Linked DNA regions of Homo sapiens: region 1 is linked to region 2. The links are contacts of gene promoters, found by promoter capture Hi-C in blood cells and fetal thymus (Javierre and others, 2016). All regions are on one chromosome and are shown on one strand. Each heading gives the region's core, a stretch centred on a gene start or on the middle of the fragment in contact. The rest is flanking DNA. Distances are from core to core; before and after follow the strand shown. Region 1 has its middle 170 kb from the start of NCAM1. Region 2 holds the start of NCAM1-AS1 (NCAM1 antisense RNA 1).

Region 1 (5,775 bases), core at 1,349-3,848, 480 kb after region 2:
TAGATGCGCTTAGCAAAGAAGGAGAGTCAAGGAAGCGGGAAATGTAGTGAATGGTGAGTGCTCCCAGAAAGGGGTATCCAGGAGTATGGACAGCAGCCTCACAAGGTCTCCACAAAGCAGAACATATAGTGTGCAGCTGAGAGCTGTGGGCATGTGGCCCAGAAAAGCCCAGAAACCTGGAAAGGCTCTGCGATGAGAAGAGGACACAGCAGTGACCACGTAGCCAGAGGACCACAGCCCAGATAGGACAAGGACATGTGCGTGGATGCCAACGAGATGTCACCGAGGATGGGATCGCACCCCTGCCCCCCACTTCATGCAAGGGCACCAGGTAGCCCCTCCCTAAATTGGATGCAACTTCCTGTTAAGTGAAAAATGGGAGACCTGAAATTAACTGAGATTAATTTCCTGCCACAGAATGGGAGCTTGAAACTGAAAATCATTTGAGTTATAGAAAATGTAGCTAATTTTTTTTTGTAGGAATGGGTCTGTGAACTGAGGTCCTCATCCACAATGACATTTCTTCATGGAGTATTTTGGGTCTTGGTGCAGCTGTGGGACGTTCTGATGGTGTTAGGGTGTGCCATCGGAGATACGATTTCCTGGTTCTACTTTTCCAAAAGCAGAAGAGGACAGAGTGAGGGCTGGGAGCCTCTTCCTGAGCTGCATTTCAAAGCAGTGTGCTCAGACTCCAAGTGGGGAGATGCCTTCTCTTTCCTCTCTCACACAAGCTCACCATTTCAACCCCAGAGTTACACTGTCTCAGCGAAAAGAATGAAACTGATACAACCAGCTGCTGGGATTCTGGTACCAACACAGCCAGCACCTGACCGCCCCCTGCAGGGTTCGACGGGGAGTGACTCATCCACAGTGAAAATGGCCAAACAAAAACAATGACTAGGCAGGCAGAGCCACCCAAATGTCAGCAGAGAGAAAAACTGTCAATGAATGAGCCCCAAATGGCTCTATAACAGACATCCCAAGGTTGGGGTGCAGAACCCGGGTCACCCCACCTGGCAGGCAGTCGGTGACCACCCATTGGCGATGGGCGAGGGGACGTGGGACATCTGAGCCTCCTCAAGTCACTATTGTTGAAATTCACAATCAACATGGGTCACTGCTTTGGCAGGCGGCCCGTCCTTCTCCGCCCCCTCTTCTTGAGTTTGTAGAAAAGGCTTTTCTCTGGACTCAAAGGAGGTAGGATTCCCCCGCCTTTTTTCACTACCTGCTTCTTGCCTCGCTGAATTCTTTTTTGTACCTTCTCCCTTTGGTGAGTGGGTGCCATTTATCCAGCAAGAATGAACCAACTTATATAGTCTTTCACTCATTCCCTTGGCTTCCCTTGTTTTCTTTTGTCTGCCCTTGAGTTTCTTGGATTAGCCTGCCTCTGCTCAAGGCTGGAGCATGGTTTTCACAGGGTGCTTCCTGGGTTGACTTCAGGATTTAGGAGGTCAGGGGATGGGGTGCTTTATCTCTGCATCCTCAACTACAATATTCACCTCCACCAGAGAGCAGAGAAGTAGATGGTCCAAGCTTTGCACCAGACTAGAAAGAATACTCCCCGGGAGAGTTCCCAGCCCCCAGAGGTCAACCATTAATCACCTTCTGGAAGCCTGTTGCAGGGTTTGTGATGGAAATGACTCTGTCGTCATGGTAACTCTGCCTGGCCTGGCCAGGGGCTGCTCCAGCCTAACTGGCTCTTCTGGGTTTCAGGTTTATTTACAAGCTGTGACTCCTGCCTGGTAGGTCTTCAGAGCAGCTTCTTGCCATCTGGAACCTGAGGGAAAGGCTGGGGATGACATAGGCCTAAACCAGTCCTTGTTCAAAATGATGGTTTCAAACCTGGTTCTCCCATTCAAGAAAGATGAGACCTTTCACCGTAGTGCTAACATGTCTTGCCTGTTGACTGGACGTGTCCCAGAGGGACAGAATTGTATATCTGGACTTTGAAGTGGAAACACCTAGGGTCTGAGCAAGGGCTCTGCCTCTTACCAGTTGTCCATCTTTGGGCAAGTTACTAAAACACTGATCTTCAGATTCTCCCCCTCTAAGAGAAGTCCTCATACCAAGTTCACAGTGTAATTGTTAGAATTAAATAAGATAACTACATAATGCAGGAATGGCACACTTTTTCTGTAAAGGCCCAGGCAGTAAATATTTTAGGCTTTGCAGGCCACGCGGTCTCTGTCTCAACTACTCAACTCTGCCCTCATAGCATGAAAGCAGCCCGGATCAAGAGTAAACTAAACAGTGCAGCAGAGTTCCAGTAAAACTCAGGTGGCCCTTGCTGGGCAGTCTGGGCTGACCACGCATTCTAAGCAGGAGCTACATCTGAATGAATAATATGCATCGCTGGCCACCGCGGAGAAGAGGCACCAGTGAGGGCAGCAGTGTGGTGACACAGCCGAGGGCAGGGTGAGAAGTTCAGGCTGGCTTCAGAGCCCCAGTTCTGACAGGCTCTGCACGGCCGCTCACATCTCCGGGGAAAGCCACAGTGTGCCAACAGCCCAGCGACCTGCTATACTGAGCTGTGATTTATTAATGCTCTCACACAGGGCCTCTCTCCAAGAGGTTTGCTGGGGTTGAGGGAAGAATATGGGATCCCTAATTCATTCAGAACACTCTGATTTATACCAGCTCCTGGCAGCGGCGTTTTCCAAGACCCCTCAAGAGTGAAGGGGATTTAGAACTCTGTTTTCCATTCTGTGTTCACTGGTTCCAAACAACTAGCGGGTTAGAGATAGACCAAACTGGTTCTGCCTGAAAGACTCTCAGCCCTGCCGAGGGGTAAGCAGGTGTTACCCATCAGTCCAACTCCCTCCTAAGACAAGAGGTCAGGTCCTCGGAGCCAGCAGGCTGCGGGCTGAGTACATCTGTCAGTTCGGAGGGGTGGCTCACAGCAGGTCAGCTGGGGGGTGGCCTGTTTCAGAACTCAGGCCAGTGATCTCTTTGGGGGCTGGCAGTTGACTGGCAGCAGGTCTGCGCTGGTCAGGAGGATCATGAGGGAGGTGGGGTTTGGTGCTGGAATGGATGAGTCTGGGACTTTTCAAGTCCATGGTCACAGTGTGACCACAAGAAAGAGCTTTTCCCTCCTGGGCCTCAGTTTACCTCTCTGTAAAACAGGGTCCTCTCTTCTGTCCTCTCAGCCCTCCGTGAGTAGGTGGGTTGTGGTGAAGCCTGGCTGATGGTAACTGTGGGAACAGGTGGTGCACGACTCCAAGAGGGTTCTATTTATGCGGTTTATTCTGATGACACTGTGTTTTCTCCCGACAAGCTCGGGTGCTGAGCAGCTGTTCTTTCGCTGTCACCCCTGTGGCGTCGCTGTGAGGGGGAGTATTTCTACTTCTCACTGACAGTTTTCCTTGCCATGGAGGCTTTATTCAGCTCCTTAATACCAATGCTTTACATGTGGATGCAACTTCACAGTTTACAAAGCAATTTCAGAGACATCTTCTGATTTTATCTCCATAACAACCCATTCAGGTTGGCGTGGCCGACGGGTCTATCCTGAATTAGAGATGAGGAAACCGCCTGTCAGGTTAGGTGTTTCAACCCTGTGCTGGGTTCCCACCACCGGTAGGTGGCAGGGCTGAGACTGAGACATACACTTACCCCGCCACATTAAAACTTCTCAGGAAAACTGCTGCCTTTTAAGAAGCTTTTGTTCTGGCTGGCAATGGTGGCTCATGCCTGTAATCCCAGCAATTTGGGAGGCCAAGGTTGGGGGATCACTTGAGGTCAAGAGTTTGAGACCAGCCTGGCCAACATGGCAATATCCTGCCTCTACTAAAAATACAAAAATTAGCCAGGCGTGGTGGCAGGTGCTTGTAATCCCAGCTACTTGGGAGGCTGAGGCAGGAGAATTCTTGAGCCTGGGAGGTGTACGTTGCGGCGAGCCAAGATTGTGCCACTGCACTCTACCTGGGTGATACAGTGAGACTCCGTCTCAAAAAAAAAAAAAAAAAAAAAGAAGAAGAAAAAAAAGCATTTGTTCCAGTGTACTTTTATTACATTAATGTAATAAAAGTATCAAGGAACAGTTTGTTTTGGAGGGGCAGTGGGAAGGAATTTTTAAAAATAGTATAATGAAGAGGGCTTTTATTCTGTAAAGCTGCCTTCTGTCCTCAGTGCTGAACTTCCTGTCATCATCACCAAAATAAATTCCACTTTCAAATGTGACTTTTCCCCCAGGCCTTCCAAAAACTCAAGCCAGACAGGTTTGAGGGAGAGTGTGAGCTATTTTTACTACTGTCTGGGGTTCTCCCTATTCATTGTTGGAGGGGGAAAAAAAGACAGTTGAAAATCCCCAAGAATTTTCTCTGGCTGTGAATTTGCACCCAGCTGTCTCCACACACCCACACCCGGCAGCATGCGGCTGTTGGACACTGCTGGCCCTGAGTTCAACATCATTTTCATCTTTGACAGGCTTGCTCAGCCACCATCTCTGAATTATAGTAGTAGTCATAACCCAACAATGCTCTGGGCAGGTCCTTGGTACCCAAGGCCAAAGACTTTCCAGTCTTTGGAAACCAGTCATAACCTTCTATGGCCAGATGTGAAGGAATGGAGTCCTGACCTCACAGTCCCAGTTTCTAAAGTGATCCATTCTCTGAATTCCTACACCCAGAAATGCTCTGGCTTTGCACCCTTGGGTCCTCTGCCTTTCCAAGGTCCCACCTGACTGGTGGCCAAAATTGTGAGCCATTGATGTAAACAATAAAAATGATAGTAGAACAAACCCATTAGGCTGAGCCAAGTCACCCTGACCAGAAAAAAAAAAAGCCACATCTGAAGAAAGTGAAGACAAACAGGAAATCTTTGCAAATAGTCACTCTTATCTCCACTCACCTCATATCCCTGCCCTTCCTCACTATCCCTTTCCCCTTTCATCTTTCCTTCCTTCTTCCCCTTTCTCCTATAATACCTGTGTTTCCTCACTAAACCGATTGTCTATGCCACAATCCCTGAAAAATATTCCCATCTATAACCCGTGAGGTTTGTGTCCATTTCAACTCTAGGTTCAATTCTGTTAAAGTGAACAGTGAATTCCAAGAAACTGTCTAAATAATTTCATTGTGTTGGAAGTTTTTGTAACAAATTTGCAAGAAAAAAAATGACCGAATCTTGGATATGGATATCCTGGAGGCTACAAAAGTGTTTTTACTGTAAGGATGTTTGAAATAACATTGTGTTAAAGGGATATTGGGGTTATGTCATTGCCTCTGACCTAGAGAGTTTCACCTGCTACCTCCATCAGACTCCTTCCAAGACCTCACAGATGCCTGGATTTGGTAGCTGGCCAGGTATTCTTCATAGCTGTATGATCCCCTGGATTGAGTCATCCACCAAGTATCCTTTTGAGGACTTCCAGTGGGATTAGCATCTGGCTGGGTGCTGTGAAGAATTTCCCAAACATAAGATAGAATTGCTCTCCTCATGGTGCTTACAATCTAGATGAGGGAGGTACATCTCGTATGCAACAGCTAAATTGAATAGCAGAAGGCAGTACCTAGTTAAGTGCTAGGCTATGTGGACTACAAATGCCATCCTCATTCTGTCTGTAATGTGAGCCTATTCTAGGCACAGGGGAAGACTAAGTCTGCCTTCTGCTCCATTCCAGCCCTCCCAATGCCTCAGAGTCCTTTGTATATATTGTACGAGCTCCGCTGTAGAACTTACTACATTGTGTTGTATGTTCGTTATGTTTATTTTATTTTATTATTTTATTTTATTTTTTATTTTTTGAGATGGAGTCTCACTCTGTCACCCAGGCTG
Region 2 (5,748 bases), core at 314-2,813:
CTGTGGTGTTGGAAATGCTCTGGTGAAGCTGCTGTGTCACTTTTTATTTTGATCTTTGCTCGGTTCTCTTCACCCATCATGCTTTGCTCTCGTTCTCCTTTGTCTGTGTGGCGTCATTGGGGACCGTCTTGACTTCGGCTGGCGCTGGCTTCGTTTCTGTCTCCTGGCACTCTGGCTTTGCTTCTACGGGGCCCTTCCTGCAGAGAATCAGGAAAACAGAACCACTGAGACCACGGTCTGCAGACATCTCGCCCCTGCATCCAGGCCTTGGGGACAGCAGGGAGGAGGAGGGGTTCTCCAGTGACAGCACCCGGCTCCAACCTCTGCCCGTCAAATCACCTGGGAGCACTAAAAATCACCCAAGCCCGAGCTGTGTTCGCGGAAATCCTGATTTAATTGGTCCGGACACAGTGACTTTTAAAAGCACCCAAGTGACTCTAATGTGCAGCCATAGTTGAGAAGCACTGAGTCAGAAGAACGAGTCCTTTCCTCTTCCAGCCCTAAGTTGATGCCAGAGGCTGTGTTTTTACCTGGGGTGGTGGAAGGGGGCAGCAGAGGCAGCTCCTCCTCACCCTGACCAGCTGCAGTGGCAACAGCTCAGCTGGATGTAAATGCAGCCTGCTGGGCTGGGCTGGGCTCCCAGCACTGATTTCAGGGGCCCCTTTGCAACCCACTCTTGCCTGTCCCTTCCCCACCCCACCCTGTGCTGTTGCAGGATGATGCCTCTAGGGCCTGCCTGGGTAGGGTGAGAAAACACTGATGGAGGCAGCTTTTCATGGCAGCCTGGTGGGGTACTAGAGTGGGCCTGGTGGCTATGCGAGAGTTGAGGGCAGCTGAGTGGGCAGGGCTATCAGAGTCCTTTTCCCTCCCGATGCTGAGATTCAGGGCTCCTGGCGAGAGCCCCTTGCAGCCCATGGTGGCAGCATGGCAGCTTATCTGGGGAGCAGCCATAGGAGCCTCTATAAAAATCTAGGTCTGACTCTGCCTCCATCAGTTCCAGGAAAGGGAGTCGGGTCTGAGGATGCATGGGGACAGGCACAGACCCCAGCCTCAGCTGGTGCCACTGAATTTTGGCAAGACACTTACAAACCTGAAAGGTTAAGGCCTTTCTCTTGAACTTTGAGACCCAGCAGCCATTTGATGCTGGGGAGCCCCGAGTCTTCCCAGCCACTCTAAGAGCAGGAGAAGCAAGAGTGGGCTGGGGGCCGGGGTTGGGAGGGGAGGGTGAGCATCTGAGCCACAGTGTGAGGGGACCTCTGAACTGCACCCTCCCCTGCCACGGGCCTGGGGCCTACCTCTTTTCTTCCTGCACATCAGTGCCTTTCTGGTAGGGACTCAGCCTGGCACTGAATAACACACCGACTGGGGGCCCCAGGGTGGCTGATAAGGGCACCTTGGCCTTCTTAGCCTGCTTCCCAAGCTATTCTCATCAGTGGCCTGACTGCAAGGGCTCCCCCAGGGAAAACAGAAGCCGCTGCTAGGATGATAAGGATAAAACATAATTAACATGGCCTAATTAGCCAGCAGGCGGCTGCTCCTGGGGCCCAGCTGCCTGTCCTGCTCTCTCTGCCTTATCCCAGCCCCTTGGTTGACGGTCGCCTCAGAGAAGCCCTGGATGAGGCTGAAGACACATCTAACAAGGAGGACACAGCACAGCACAAATGCACACCACCACAGGACACAACCCGATGACAGCAGACAAAGAGAGGCCGTACTCGGTCTTTGCTGGCGCAGGCGAAACAGAGCTGTCTGCAGTGGAAGGAGCAAGCTCAGGGGCTTGTCCACTGGCCCCAGCGGCGGGAGCAGGAGAGCCCAGGGCTGCAAAAACATCCTTTGCAAGGTCAATATCTGGGGTCTTGAAGTTCCCTTCGTCCATTTTAAAGTCCTCGCCCTGGGAAGGGTTTGTGGTGCTGACGGAGGCAGCCTCGCTCTTCGGGCTAGCAAGGGCTGTGGCTGCCTCGGCCGGGCTCTTCGCGGCTCCGGGCTGGGTGGGCTCCGGGTCCGGGCCTTTGGTGCTGGGAGCCTCCTGCTTGGCCTGAGGGGCTTCTGTGGCAGGGGCAGCCGCTGCTGCTAGAGGACTGGCTGCCCCAGTCGGGGTGGGGACTGGTGCAGGGGTGGGCTTGCTGGCCGGAGGAGCCTTAGAGGCCTCCCCGACACCAGCAGGGGCGCTTGGGCTGAGGACAGCCCCTTGGTTAGCCAGGACACTAGAAGACAAATTGCTAGCGGCAGGGGTTGAGGTCGGGGTGTCGCTCAGGTCAACGAGGGGGGCGACCTTGGGGGCTGAAGCTGGGGCCGGGGAGGGGGCAGAGGCGCTGGGCCCCTTGGAAGGGGTGGCCTGGCCAGCCGGTACAGAGTTTGAGTCAGGCGTGGCCGTGGCCGGCGGGGCAATACTGGAGGTCAGGGTGGTGGTCTCACTGGTGGGGCTGTTCTGAGCAGTGGCAAAGGTTTCGGTGATAGTGTCAGAGTTAGTGGTGACGGTGGTGACAGAAGGCAGCATGTCCTCGACAGTGGCCGTAGTGTCGGCAGGCAGCCTGTGGGAGGACAGGAAGTAGAAGAGAATAGACAATGAAGCTGAGACGTGACAGAGAAGCGAGGAGGAGGGCTGAAGCCCAGGACAGGGACCATGGGGGTGGGGGCATGCAGTTAGGCACAGGCACGGACACAGGCCCACAGAGAGAGAAGGATGCTGAGAGGAAGCACACGCCCAGGTGGGCAGAAGAGGACACAGGAGACGACAGAGAACGTGGCGGTCTCAAAAGGGACCTGCTAGCCCTTCCCTGCTGATGTCTCTCCAGCTCTCTGCATAGAGCTCCCTTTCCCTGAAGTCCTTGCAGACCTGCCTAGGGCTTCCTGATCCCTGCCCTGGATCTCCATTCAAGGAGGGGCAGGCTTCTGTTCAGCATCCACCTGCTCTAGGCTTCCCAGGTCCCAGAGGAACTGGGCCCAGCTGTCCTGCAGGGCTCCCCAGGGCACCGATGGGAAAAGTCACGAATAAGGCAGATCACGAGTACTCAGAATGGCTCATAGGAGCTGTGGGTTCTTCCAGTCACAGATTTTGTGGTTCCCTGAAACTCCATTCCCTTTAAGCCCATAAGATCCTTGACAGCTAGGCAGGCATTACAACCACAACTGGTCTGGGGCTCCGTGGGTCCCCGAGGTTTCTGAACAGAGGAGGGGCAGAGAACTTTACCAGGTCCCCAGCTTCCCTTATCCTTTCAGGGGGAAAACACAAAACCCTAGAATTTCAAGAAATCCTAAGCAGACTCTGCTAAGCCTTTCAGTGAGATTTTGCCACCTTAAGCCATTTCCAGAATATGTGTATAACTTGAGAACAGGGGCTAGGGATCCAGGGATCCCTACTTATACAGGAGCCTTCTAAGGGTACCCACAGCCACCGAAATAGAACCAGAAATGCCTGAGGTCAGGCATTTCTCAGCCAAGCAGGTCTTGTGGCCAAGGGTTTGGAATCCTGGCCTGAACTGTTTGGCCGGGAGCTGTGGGTAGGGGCACGGGAGGTGGGGGTAGGGTGGGGAGGTGGGTGTGGGGGTCTCTACGGAGCAGGTGCCAGCCCCTCCCAGCCCACGTACTCGGGCTCCGTCAGTGGCGTGGTCTCGTTGGGCTCTGTGTGTTTCCCTCCATCATGGTTTGGGGTCCTCTCCTCCTCCGTTCGAACCTCCACGATGGGCTCCTTGGACTCATCTTTCCTGTGGAGACAGTACTGCTGGTTAGACCCTAGGGCAGCTGCAGGGAGGGGCTCCCACGGAAGAGCAGCTATGACTCAACCCAAGGCTGGCACGGTGGGCATCCAGAGCCAACAGATTCAAATGTATAAGTCTCAGCCCAACCCTTGCTAGCTGTGTGACCTTGAGCTTCAGATTTAATCACCCTGCCTCAGTCCCTTCATCTGTAAAATGAGGCAAAAACACTGTTACTTTGCCTAGTTATGAGAATTCAATGAAAGGATGCATGGGAAGTGCTAAACACAGTGCCTGACACAGATCATTGCTCAAATACATACATCTGTCTCTGTACACAGGTATACATACATTTCTTTTCCTTTCCTTTTCTTTTTTTTTTTTTTTTTTTTTTTTTTTGAGACAGAGTCTCTCTATGTCGCCCAGGCTGGAGTGCAGTGGCGTGATCTTGGTTCGTTGCAACCTCCGCCTCCTGGGTTCAAGCGATTCTCCAGCCTCAGCCTCCTGAATAGCTGGGATTACAGGAGCATGCCACCACGCCTGGCTAATTTTTGTATTTTTAGTAGAGGCGGGGCTTCGCCATGTTAGCCAGGCTGGTCTCCAACTCCTGACCTCAAATGATCCATCCATCTCGGCCTCCCAAAGTGCTGGGATTACAGGCGTGAGTCACCCCTATACATACATTTCTAAGTACATGCACATACATGTATATGCATATACAGTGCCTGGCATGTGGTGGTGCTAAACAACTTATTTCCTTGCTCAGTCCCTTTCTGGCTTGCTCCAGCTCTGCTCCACCCAGTGACAGTCTTCGAAGGCTCTTGCTAACTGGCTTAGGATCTGTTTCTCCAAGATGCTGTTGGAGGGACAGTATCTGGATCATCAGCTCCATAAGGACAAGAATTTCTATCTGTTTGTTCCCTGTTGTACCTATGTGCCTGGGAACAGTGCCTTGCCTGCAGCAGCTGCTTGATAAATATTTGTTGAGTGATGGATGAATGAATGAATAAACAATGTACGAAAGCAAGGTAAGTGTGTCCCTCTAATGCTGCCCTACCCCATGGCAGCTCCTCCCCAGGTTTAGTTCTGACAATTTCCCTCATTTTGACCTACACAGGGATTTTCACACTCTGGGGAGATTCTAATACAAGAGATCTGGGATTGGGCTCAAGAGTCTACATTTCAAACAGGTAACCCCCAAAGACCATGCTTTGAGAAACTTTTCTCTAATGTTTTTCCCCCATCAGGGTTCCAAATGGAGAACGTGCAATGAAAGGAAAGGCACCAGCTGATGGCGCAGGGTGGTGCAGCTGCTGGGTCCCTGGGCTGGAGCAGAGCCCAAACCTCAGCAAGGTGGACAGGTCTGCACTCACGAGAAGGCGGCCTTGCCCTCCTCCATGTCCTTGCCCTTGGCCCCGGGCCCGGCTTTTCCACACAGGTTGACCGCAATGCACATGAACAGGCCACACTTGTTCAGGAAGTAGCAGGTGATGTCCACAACCACCAGGAGCAGGACGAAGATGACGATGAGGATGCCCACGATGGCCCCGGTGCTCAGGCCTGAGGTGGGGCTGCCGTTGGCTTGAGTGGGAGAGAGATGGCTGGTGGTTAACAGACTGAGATGCGAGACCTCCAGACCCTGCCAGCAAAAGCCCCTGCGGGTGGGGAGGGCCCAGAGGACAGAGTCATGGCATTCATGCCCAGAGTGACACCTTCCTGGGGACCTTCTATGCCCCAGAATTGAGAAAACAGGGTCTTTCTATACCTTCCAGAGGGAGGGATGACAACATCATCTCACAGATTGGGGAACAGGGGTGAGCCTGGTCAGCTGGCCTCCCGTGAGTCCTGGGAGCAGACTGAGCCCCGCCTGTCTGAGAACACCGGATAATGAGGCAGTTGGAGGGCGCTGCTGTGTTTCCCCTGGACCAGGGCAAAAGGCTTTGCAGCACAGGCAGGCAGTGATCACTGATTTCAGGCGGGGCTGTGGCTCCTCAAGTGCTCAGGGATAGGGGCCCAAAATGGGGTGGTGGAGGGTTCCTGGGGCTTTCTTGGG

The links. The method cuts DNA at HindIII sites, captures the fragments that hold promoters and counts their contacts. A CHiCAGO score of 5 or more calls a contact.
Region 1: a fragment that was not itself captured here is called in contact with the fragment with the promoter of NCAM1-AS1 in region 2 in 3 of 17 cell types (M2 macrophages, M0 macrophages and M1 macrophages); the score reaches 6.8 in M2 macrophages.

Annotation. Positions count from the first base shown.
Region 1 is chr11:112,793,174-112,798,948 of GRCh38, reverse strand. No RefSeq gene overlaps it. Among named protein-coding and RNA genes, the nearest start is that of NCAM1, 170 kb to the left of the region's middle. RefSeq lists enhancers at 1-331, 764-863, 894-943, 332-1,009. The HindIII fragment of the contact is 2,125 bases long and covers 1,536-3,660 here.
Region 2 is chr11:113,269,716-113,275,463 of GRCh38, reverse strand. NCAM1-AS1 (NCAM1 antisense RNA 1) reads left to right here and starts at 1,563. Exons shown (of 3, transcript NR_034101.1): 1 at 1,563-1,840; 2 at 4,943-5,260. NCAM1 (neural cell adhesion molecule 1) reads right to left here. Exons shown (of 20, transcript NM_181351.5): 18 at 5,069-5,276; 19 at 3,588-3,704; 20 at 1-197. The coding sequence ends at 77. The HindIII fragment of the contact is 7,964 bases long and covers 1-5,748 here.